2 separate regions of the Homo sapiens genome follow, and region 1 is linked to region 2. Evidence: promoter capture Hi-C in 16 types of primary human blood cells and fetal thymus (Javierre and others, 2016). All regions are on one chromosome and are shown on one strand. The core of a region is centred on a gene start or on the middle of the fragment in contact, and the rest is flanking DNA. Distances in the headings are between cores, read along the strand shown.

The links. The method cuts DNA at HindIII sites, captures the fragments that hold promoters and counts their contacts. A CHiCAGO score of 5 or more calls a contact.
Region 1: a contact is called between a fragment that was not itself captured here and the fragment with the promoter of TARBP1 in region 2, in 3 of 17 cell types (naive CD4 T cells, total CD4 T cells and naive CD8 T cells). The highest score is 5.8, in naive CD4 T cells.

What each region holds. Positions count from the first base shown.
Region 1 is chr1:235,493,845-235,499,102 of GRCh38, reverse strand. It overlaps B3GALNT2 (beta-1,3-N-acetylgalactosaminyltransferase 2), which reads left to right. Exons shown (of 12, transcript NM_152490.5): 2 at 4,275-4,422. Among named protein-coding and RNA genes, the nearest start is that of B3GALNT2, 8.0 kb to the left of the region's middle. The HindIII fragment of the contact is 799 bases long and covers 3,391-4,189 here.
Region 2 is chr1:234,477,254-234,483,307 of GRCh38, reverse strand. TARBP1 (tRNA guanosine 2 -O-methyltransferase TARBP1) reads left to right here and starts at 4,129. Exons shown (of 30, transcript NM_005646.4): 1 at 4,129-5,135. The coding sequence starts at 4,205. RefSeq lists silencers at 4,013-4,202, 4,233-5,032. The HindIII fragment of the contact is 13,603 bases long and covers 2,355-6,054 here.

The DNA of each region.
Region 1 (5,258 bases), core at 2,541-5,040, 1.0 Mb before region 2:
TTAATGAGTCCTTTATGTGTTTATGTAGCTTGCAGTTTTTCGCTATTAATAGGTGACACTATGATTAATAAAGATCTTCTGAGTGTATCACTGATTATTTCTTTAGAATGAGTTCTTAGAATTGCTGGACAAAGTTACACCATTCTAAATTATTTGACACATTGCCAAATTGCCCTGCAGAAGACTGTACCAAATTACATTCCTTCCCGCAATGAAAAAGAGTAGCCTTTTTTTTTTTTTTTTTTTTTTTTTTTTTTTTGAGAAGGAGTCTAGCTCTGTCACCCAGACTGGAGAGCAGTGGCGGGATCTTGGCTGACTGCAACCTCTGCCTCCCAGGTTCAAGCAAGTCTCCTGACTCAGCCTCCCGAGTAGCTGGGATTACAGGCATGCACCACCACACCTAGCTAATTTTTGTTGTATTTTTAATAGAGATGAGGTTTCACCATATTGGCCAGGCTGGTCTCGAACTTCTGACCTTGTGATCTGCCCTCCTCGGCCTCCCAAAATTGAAGCTGGGATTATAGGCATGAGCCACCGTGCCCGGCGGAGAGTAGCCACTTTGTTGAAATCACTAACAACATTTCCTTGAAGTACCATCATTTAGTTACAATCATTTAAGAAGACATTTGTCAGTTTGAATGTAGGAGAAAACTGGTGTCTCATTGCTCTAATTCAAACTTGATTCTTATTGAAGTTGAACATGTTTTCATAGGCTTGCTATTTGCCTTTTTTCTTTTCTGAATTATCTTTATGTCCTTCTGTATCATGTTTACTTCTTACCACTTTCTTTTTTTCCCTCTGTTTCTAGACACTGGAGTCAACTAGGTACCCTGTTCTTGTAACATAAAAGGTGATAAGAGTTTAGAGCCAGATTGGTAAAGGGAGCTAGAAATTTGAGCAACATTCTTACATAGGTATTTTATTATGCATCTGCTTTGGGTTTTGTACTGTGTAACACAGTACTCAGGAGTCTATTGGACTAATTTACATTAATGGTATGTGGTTAAAAAACCTATTTTTCTGACATTTGACTTCAATATATCTTGAAGTAGTTCTCTAAAAGACCACGATATGCCGTGTTACTTTCCCTCTGCAAGAAAAAGAGAAATGCATGTAAAGTAAAGCAGTTGAACAGAAGCAGCTTAGACATGGATTAGAAGCAGGGGGGATTGAGAGTGGCAGAGAGGTGGAATAAGATCAAAAAGAGGTTTCCATCCATAATCCATGGGATTTTCACATGTCACATGGTTATCTTTGTATTTCTTTATTATTTTTAGAAAAATCTTGTTTGACAATTATATGGAGAAGTCAGGTAAAAACCAGTTAGGATGCCCTCGTACTGGTCCAGGTGAAAAAACAGACCGAACTGAGCAGCAGCTAGAATTAATGACAAGAAAGGGATAGATTTGAGAAATTTTCATGAAGATTTTGAGACATCAAGAAAAGATTAAATTATGTTCTATGTAATCTATTTCTAAAAGATTTGCTTTGATTAGCCATCAAAAATAAGGTAGTAAATTATTGGAATTAAAAGTGATGTTTCAAATATTTTGAAAGTTTGCTTTTGTGCAGCATCCTTATTTTCTGATGATGTCAGATAAATGAGGCATTTAGATTAAATGTGATTTTTGCCCTACAGCTTTTAATCTTTTGAGATGAGACTTTGAAACAAATGAAATAGAATATCCAAAATTTTTTTTGTATCAGTTTTCTCTAATTAAGAAGTTGAAGCACAGGGATTTAAATAATTTCTTACTAACGTAATGCAAAATCTTGGCTGTGGAATCAATGTCAGAACTGGCTGGTCACTACCTTTGTTTTGCCTCCTTCCTGACACTAGAATGTACATATTTCTCTGTGAAAAAGGTGGGGAGGCATATTGTCAGTTTTACATAGTCATTTAAATTAGTCTCTGAATTCAGACACTCATTTAGAGTGAGTTCCAGCACTAGGTACAACTTCCATCATATAGTTATGTATCTGAGAAAAAATGTTCTGAGCTATGAGTTAAAAAAAATTGATGTGTTACCCAGCGTATTCAATGATCCGCTTATTGCTAATTCAGTTGAACTGGTATTGTGGATTAAAAGATCAGAATTTAGACTCAGATAAGCTATATTAAGCTGTATAGCTTTAGAATAGAACAGTGATAAAGAATGGTGTTAGATTGCCTGGGATTAAATCTTAGCCCAGCCATTTCCAAGCTGTTTGACTTAAGTTACTGAATTCTTTGGGTGTTTCATTTGTTCAACAAGTACTGGGCCAGGCACGGTGGATCACGCCTGTAATCCCAGCACTTTGGGAGGCCGAGGCGGTGGATCACAAGGTCAAGAGTTCAACACCAGCCTGGCCAAGATGGTGAAACTCCATCTCTACTAAAACTACAAAAATTAGCCAGGCACAGTGACAGGCGCCTATAATCCCAGCTACTCAGGAGGCTGAGGCAGGAGAATCACTTGAACCCGGGCGGCAGAGGTTGCAGTGAGCCGAGATCGCCGCCACTGCACTCCAGACTGGGCCACAGAGTGGGACTCCGTCAAAAAAAAAAAAAAAAAGAAACAAGTACCTACCTCATAGGGTTGTGAACATTAAATGATACTCTATATGTAGTGCTTTTCACAGATTAACTGTTCAATAAATATGGCCTATTAATAAGCTTAATCCATGAAAATTTGAATTTATTTAAAAATAAATTGTCTTTATAAAAGAATTCGTTTTAGTACATGACTCATTGTAGAGTGAAATAATAAATACCTCTATTCCATTTGGAATGGAACTTTTTTTTTTTTTTCAGGTGGAGTCTCACTCTTGTTGCCCAGGCTGGAGTGCAATGGCGCGGTCTCGGCTCACCCCAACCTCCACCTCCCGGGTTCAAGAGATTCTCCTGCCTCAGCCTCCCAAGTAGCTGGGATAACAGGCAAGCACCACCACACCCGGCTAATTTTGTATTTTTAGTAGAGACAGGGTTTCTCCATGTTGGTCAGGCTGGTCTTGAACTCCCGACCTCAGGTGATCCGCCCACCTCGGCCTTCCAAAGTGCTGGGATTACAGGCATGAGCCACCGTGCCTGGCCCAGAATGAAACATTTTAAGAAATATATCTATTGTGGAAAATAAGGTATCTACACAAAAATTTCTGTATTATATCCTTAAAACTATCCTAGTAGAAAGATCTGTTTTTATTATTTTAATTGGGCCTTTGAAGAAAATATCAACCTGGTTTTGTTGTCTTTTAGACTGAATACCTAGATCCCATGGTATATAAAAACATTGCATTTAATATAGTAAAGAGTCTGGGCTTCAATAATTTATTTTTGGAAACGTTTTGGATCAGTTCCCACCACTGGAGAAAGAGATGAAATGGATACCTCATCAGAGCTATATATAAGCTTGTAGCTCTCAAGCCTTAAAACTGGTGATGAAAAACAAGGACAAAGTATATCTTTCTCTTCTGTCTTCTAAGGACAAGTTTTACATGGAAATGTAACCCTGCCCATTAGACCTTCTGACAGTAAAAAATGAGCCGTTCAGAATGACTTACTTTATTATTATTTTTTTTTTTTTTTACTAAAAGTGTTGCTTTCCCGTCATTCTTCAGAATATTTTGTAGGTAGTGAAAGGTTTACTGGCTATAGAATTCATTGATATAAATAAGGGTTGCATTACTTTCCGGTATGGAAGTCCTTCAGCGTCATCCGCCAAACTTAATAACTAACATTAATGTAGGACCTCACTTTTCAAAGCACATTTTTTTTAGTTGCCATTGAATGCCTCATATATGCCTAATACCAAACCAAGAGCTTTATACATGTTATCTCATTTAATTTTTACAACAGCTTTATGAGAAGTATTATTATACCCATTTTGTAGTTGAGGAAACTGAGGCTCAAGAAGCTAAATAACTTATAGTTAATATATGATAGAGCCTGGATTCTAACTGTGGCCTAATTGACTCTTAATGCCTACTATTTTTTTATGCTACGTTGCCTTTTGAAACAGATTCTTACCACATCTTGTTTGTTTTGAAGAATTAGTATACTTACGTGAGCATGAATACATACATATATACGTGAAAGACAAAAATACTCTAAACCAAAATGTTATTAGTGGTTGTCTCTGGATAGTGGGTTCATATGTGATTTAAAAATTCTTTTCTTTGTGTTTATCTGAATTTCCTACAAACATAAGCTTATTTTGTAATAAACTTATGATACATATTGAACTTCATAGTAATTGATACATGACTTATTTCTCATGTATTGTTCTTATTTCTAGATCAGTTGGCCTTATTTCCTCAGTGGAAATCTACTCACTATGATGTGGTAGTTGGCGTGTTGTCAGCTCGCAATAACCATGAACTTCGAAACGTGATAAGAAGCACCTGGATGAGACATTTGCTACAGCATCCCACATTAAGTCAACGGTAGGTTTTCTGAGTTGTTGCCTTGCCTGGTTTATTGAAATAAGAGTTCTGAAAAACCTAGCCAGGCGTGGTGGTGTGTGCCCGTCGTCCCAGCTACCGGGGAGGCTGAGGTGGAAGGATTGCTTGAGCTTGGAAAATTGAGGCTGCAGTGAGCCATGATTGCACCACTGCATTCTAGCCTGCATGATGGGAATGAGTCCCTGCCTAATTTAAAAAAAAAAAAAGTTCTGAAAAACCTTACTTTGAATAGAAATGTTCATTCAGATATGTGGGCTCTTCCTGGGAGAAATGGCTGTTTCATTTGCTTTTCTTCCATATAGTTTGGGCCAAAAAGTAAATTTAACCAACATTTTAAGCCAAATGATAATTGGAAGAGAGTATATTCACTGGTTAACGTGTAGTATTTAGATACCCAGTGTGGTTTGTTTGTTTTTTGCTTTGATTTAGAATAGCAATTCTTAAAAGGTTCTGTTCTAGAGCAGTTCTCTCCTTAGACACATGTGCATGTCTAAATATACTTTTCACTAACTTCACAGAGATAAATTTAATTTTTTTCAGTTTTGTAGTATTTTTTAGTTGTGTAATCTGCAGTATGTGTAATATGCCATGCTCTTTTTCCTGACTACCCTTCTGGAACTGAGCTTTGGTAATCCATTTCATGCTGACATTAGATAGCTCTCAGTTATTAGTTAGGGGCCCAAAGCCTTAGTCTGTTCTCAATGAGATCAACCTCTGAAGATTGTGTAGTGAGGGACTAGGGGAAGAAACGCATAGAAGTTGACTTCTATGTATGTGAAGACTCAGGTGATAAGCAGAGAAGGCCCTTTCAGGATTGA
Region 2 (6,054 bases), core at 2,880-5,379:
GTGACATGCCAGGATGTTTGGGGAATTTGAAAGAGGGTCACCTAATTTAACTGGGGTGTTAGCAGCAGGAGAAAGGTATTAAGAAATGACTTTCTGGAGAGATAACATTTGAACTTTGTCTTGAAAGAAAAAAAAAGTCAGGTGGAGAAGGGGTAAGTGCTTTCCAAAAGAGAGAAGGGCTTTTTTTGAAAAAACACAAAGAAAAGTGAGAGCACACATGTTTTAGGGACTTCAAAATTAAGGTGTAAATGGGGCTTGTCAGGAGTGTGAAGATGGAGAATTAGGCAGGCATTCCATCTTGAGGCATCTTGGATGATATGCTAAGAAACTCAACCATGATTCTGAGGGCTCTGGGTAGCCAATGATGTAATTTTAGGAAGATCATCCTAGTACCAATACGGAGTATGTATTACACGACCAGGGGCACTAGGAATGGCTTCTTAGAGAGATGCCTTGAAATTTGGGTCTTCATAAAGGAGTAGGAGATGGCTATTCACTCGATAAGCGTTACTTAAATGTGATATAGCTGGGAGTGGGGTAGGTGGTGATTGCTATTATCTTGGCAAGAAATGAGGAGGGTCTAAAACTAAGTAAGGTATTAGTGGGGCACAGAGAGGAGGGATCACCGAGAGATTTAGAAAGTTGCATGGAAACTTTGAGGAGTGATTGCATGTGAGAATCAAGTAGGAAGTGTATTGGTTCCCAGGTTTTTGACTTGGGCAACTTGGGAATGATGGCCATTTCCCTAAACAGGGAATTCCTGGGAAGAAGAACATCGGTGGGGAGTAATGATGCTGGGTGAAGGGATGAAGGGAATGAAGTTAGATTTGTAAAAGTGGAGACTGAGAATGATGTCCTGAATAATATTCAAATGAAGACGTGTGGTAGGCAGTTGGAGAAATAGGTTTCGAGCTATCTCCTAAGGATAAGTCTCAGGAGAGAGACCTAGGCTGGAGATACAGACTTTTTCATCATTAGCATGTAAATGGTAATCAGATCTATAGTGTTAATGAAGTTATTCAGAGAAAATTTACAGAGTGAGGAGAAGAGAGACCTGAAGATAAAACCCTGGAAATATCACTATGGACAGGTCAGGAGGAAAAATAAGATGCTGAAAGAAAGGGAGAAGAAACAGCTGAGGAAGCAGAGAAAAGAAAGAACAGGACAAAGTCATCGATGAAAACCAGAGTGAGATAGTGTTTCAAGAAATAGGAAATACTCCACAGAGTCCATTCAGGTAAGAACGAAAAAGGGCAGCTCTGGCAATTAGGAATCGCTGCCCACATTGGTGAATCAGAAAAGTGGTGTTGCGGGAAATATTCCGGGAGAGAAGACAGTGCAAACATGTTGTGGGTAAGAAGGAGAGTTCCACATGCCTGACCTGGGGCAGAGAAGGGGGAGTCAGGCTGTGAGGCCAGCTGGCTTTTCCCCAATCCCAATAAGCCTTCAATGCTGTGCTCTGCAGTTAGGCTTTACTCTGAAGGCAACAGAGAATAAAACACATAGGCCAACTTGTTTTTTTGTTTTGTTTTGTTTTGTTTTGTTTTTTGGTATAAGTCATTTTTCAAGATTGAGGTAAACTTTCTTTTTTTTTTTTTTGAGACCAAGTCTCACTCTGTCTCCAGGCTGGAGTGCAGTGGTGTGATCTTGGCTCACTGCAACCTCTGCCTCCTGGGTTCAAGCAATTCTCCTGCCTCAGCCTCCCGAGTAGCTGGGATTACAGGCGTGCACCACCATGCCCAGCTAATTTTTTTGTATTTCAGTAGAGATGGGGTTTCACCATGTTGGCCAGGATGGTCTCAATCTCCTGACCTCATGATCCACCGGCCTCGGCCTCCCAAAGTGCTGGGATTACAGGTGTGAGCCACTGCGCCCGGCTGATTGAGGTAAACTTTCTGCAGAGCGAAATGCATAGATCTTAAGGGTTCAGTTCAAGGAGTCTTGACAAATGTGTAACAACACCCTGATCAACATAAAATATTTTCATCACCCCAGAAAGTTCCCTTGTGCCCAATTCTAGTCAAATCTCTACTCCCTATATGCAACTACTGTTCTCATTTCTATCCTTCAGATTACTTTTGTCTCTTCTTGGATTTCATATAAATGAAATCACGAGGATGTAAACGTTGTGACTGGCTTCCTTTGTTTAACATATTGTTTCTGAGACTTATCCATGTAAAGCGGATTAGCAATTCATTGTCTTATTGCTGGGAGCATTATTATATAGATAGATCACAATTTTTTATTCATTCTTCAATTTGATGCACATGTAGGTTGTTACCTAACACCTACTAGGTTGTTATAAGCTTTTGGCTATAACGAATAATGTTGTCAAAAACATTCTTCTGCAAGCTTTTTTTTTTGAAACATGTTTTCATTTATTTTAGGTAATTACCTGGGGGTGAAATCGCTGAATCATAAAGCAGCTATATTATAACTTTACGAGAAACAGTTTCTAAAGTGACTGTACCGTTTTCATGCCCACCAGTAATGTATGAGAATTCCAGTTGCTCCACACCCTTGGTCTTTGCCGTTTAGTGTTTTCGAGCTTTTACATGTTAGCCATTCTCATCAGTATGAAGTGGTACCTCATTGTGGGTTTAATTTGCATTTCTCTGATGACTAATGATGTTGAACACTTTTCCAAGTGCTTATCATTTGTGTATCTTCGTTTGTTAAGTGCTCAAGACATTTACCCATTTATATTTGTTAGATATATGTTGACAGAAACAATAGTTTTCTGCACATTTTATGTTGAAGGTAATTGATATTTACTGACATGTTAAAAGGGCTTAAAATAGAAACATTTATGCATTTTGTCAATGAAAAACGGAATGACTGAAATATGAAAAAAGTCTTGCCTGTGTAATGTCAGATAACCTTAAAGTCAGATAACTTTATATAAAAATAACTGTAAATTTAAATAACTAATTTTTGTCTTATCCATTATGTTATTATATGTCAAGCTCTTTGAAGTTGGGACCCTGTTTTCTCTATTGACTAAGAGGCAGATCTTTGTGTTTAGTAGCGAAGAAAACCCTATGTCACTGATCTAGTTTGTCTCAAATTGAGCCAGGAACCAAATCCACACCATGCATGCCGAGGTGAGGTTTTCTGTTTCTCTATTTAGCAATGGATGCTGTCAGAAATACAGAAAAGACAGACACAGGGACTATTTTTGAGTTTGCACATGGGAGCACATGCATTGTGCAGGAGGCTCTGCATCCTGGAGTCATCTTGGGCACTTGGCTGTGAGGGCTGGCGTGGGCATCTTGGTTTTAGCTGAATCCTAGCACATTGCTATAGGTACCTCTAAGGCAGGAGAATAGGGCCTGGAGGCAGGGAATCCAAAAACTCCCTAGAACCAAATCAGATAGAAACACTTCAGCTATGACAGGAAATATCCTCTTCATTTACATAGGGAGTACACCAAGTAAATAACTTTGTAACTTCATTTTATCCTCTTCAGTTACATAGTGTGTACACCAAGTAACCAATTGAAACCTCTATAGGTATTTAAACCCCAGAAAATTCTGTAACCAGCCCCCCTTGAGCGGCTTGCTTGGGTCTGCCCCCACCCTGTGGAGTGTACTTTTGCAATAAATCTCTGCTTTTGTGGCTTCATTCTGTCTTTGCTTTGTTTGTGCGCTTTGTCCAATTCTTGGACCTGGACACCCTCCACCGGTAACACTTCTCACTCCTGGCCTTACGTCTAAATCATTCTTGTGTTTTCATGACTTATTTTTAATGCAGATGTCCAGAACCAATTTCAGACCTACTGTGTCAGTCTCTTTGTGGATGGTGCCCATCATGCAACGTTTGGAAAATAATCTAAAGTGATTCTGCTGTGCACCTTCTGTGAACTGGTTTATGCTCACAGGCACGCCTGATTTAGGGTCCTGGGCAGACCAACCTCCAATCAGGAATCGATGAAGCTGGTGTAGATACTACATTAACTTTTAACGAAGGCCTCGTTTCTCCTAAAAATAAGAGACCAGGTGGGTTCTATCTAGGCAGGGTTGGTGGCAGGAACCCAAGGGAAGCTGAGCTGCACCAAGCCGGGCTGGGATCCCCCTCTCTGCGGCCGCGCGCCCGGCTCCGTCGGCGCACGCGCACGTAGGGGCCGGCCGGTCCTGTGCGCACGCATCGCACACGCCGGCGCCTTCCTTTGGGAGCCCGGGCCGGTGGCGCGGGCGCTCGGCAAATGGAGTGGGTGCTCGCGGAAGCGCTGCTCTCGCAGAGCCGGGACCCCCGGGCCCTGCTTGGGGCGCTGTGCCAAGGGGAGGCATCCGCGGAGCGCGTGGAGACGCTGCGCTTCCTTCTGCAGCGGCTCGAGGACGAGGAGGCGCGCGGCAGCGGGGGCGCAGGCGCGCTCCCGGAGGCGGCGCGCGAGGTGGCTGCAGGGTACCTCGTGCCACTGCTGCGGAGCCTGCGCGGACGCCCCGCGGGCGGCCCGGACCCCAGTCTGCAGCCTCGCCACCGCCGGCGCGTGCTGAGGGCGGCGGGCGCGGCCCTGCGCTCGTGCGTCCGCCTGGCCGGGCGTCCGCAGCTGGCGGCCGCGCTGGCTGAGGAGGCGCTGCGCGATCTGCTCGCCGGGTGGCGCGCGCCTGGCGCCGAGGCTGCCGTGGAAGTGCTAGCAGCCGTCGGGCCATGTTTGCGGCCCCGCGAGGACGGGCCGCTACTGGAGCGCGTGGCGGGGACCGCCGTCGCCCTGGCGCTGGGCGGGGGCGGGGACGGGGATGAGGCCGGGCCTGCCGAGGACGCGGCGGCGCTGGTGGCCGGGCGACTGCTGCCAGTGCTGGTCCAATGTGGCGGGGCGGCGCTGCGGGCCGTGTGGGGCGGGCTGGCCGCGCCTGGGGCGTCCCTGGGGTCCGGCCGCGTAGAGGAGAAGCTGCTGGTCCTGAGCGCCCTGGCCGAGAAGCTGTTGCCCGAGCCCGGCGGCGACCGCGCCCGCGGCGCGCGCGAGGCGGGCCCGGACGCCCGGCGCTGCTGGCGCTTCTGGAGGACGGTGCAGGCGGGGCTGGGCCAGGCGGACGCCCTGACGCGCAAGCGAGCGCGCTACCTGCTGCAGAGGGCGGTGGAGGTGTCGGCGGAGCTGGGGGCCGACTGCACCTGCGGGCCCCAGGAAGGAAACGGTACCTGCCTCTTTGCCCCCCAGCCTAGTGCTACCTACTTGGCTGCCCCAGAGGGGAGTCTTCCTGCTTCTAAAAACTAGCTTATCGGGGTCGTCACTCCGATCCATGCAGAATTTGGTTATTCCGCGTTGCTCCCCTAAAGCCTGAAAACCTTTGGAACCCCTTCTCGAGGGTGTTCTTTGAAGTCACAAATCACTGCGGTTGGGAACGTTCTAACCCAGAGCCGGTGGAATACAGCACCCCTGGAATAGTTTAGGAAGATAATGGAGCCCGTGCAAGATTTTACAGACCCAAATCTGCACTATATCATGGTAGATTCAACCCAATAGAAACGGTTGATATCTATCAAGTTGAAAGAAAAATTATTTGTTATTTATCTGTACTGACCAGTGAATTAGTGAATTGAGTGTTGAGTGTTAGAATTAAGCGTCATAGAGGCCATCACACTCTTCTGAAATTTCCCCTGGTAATTAGGAACAGGATTTACTAATATTTGTTAAACATGTTTCTTAAGTCGACCTTTTGAGTGTATTTTTGCCATTGATTTAATAGAATGAATCAGATTTTATTTTTTAACTGTTTGAGCTTTGCTCCCTACTATGTGCAAGAGTAATGAAACAGCAAGGCCTCCCTTCAAGTTGTTACGTTACTGTTGATTGGTTTGACTTCACTCATGTTAAATTTGGGTTTAAACTGTCAAGTACAAAGTAGATTGACTCAAAATTGTCTCAATAGAATATTTCTACTTTTTCAACGGTAGCTGACCATTTATTACAGGTAAAGGATTTTTGTTTGGCTGAAGTTATGAGGTTATATTTTCAAGTAATTTTAAAACATTAGAGAGTAAATATTTGAACAGTCCACAGATAGGTGTGATCATCCCTGAGAGTTTTCACTGGAAAACATTTTTTAAATCATC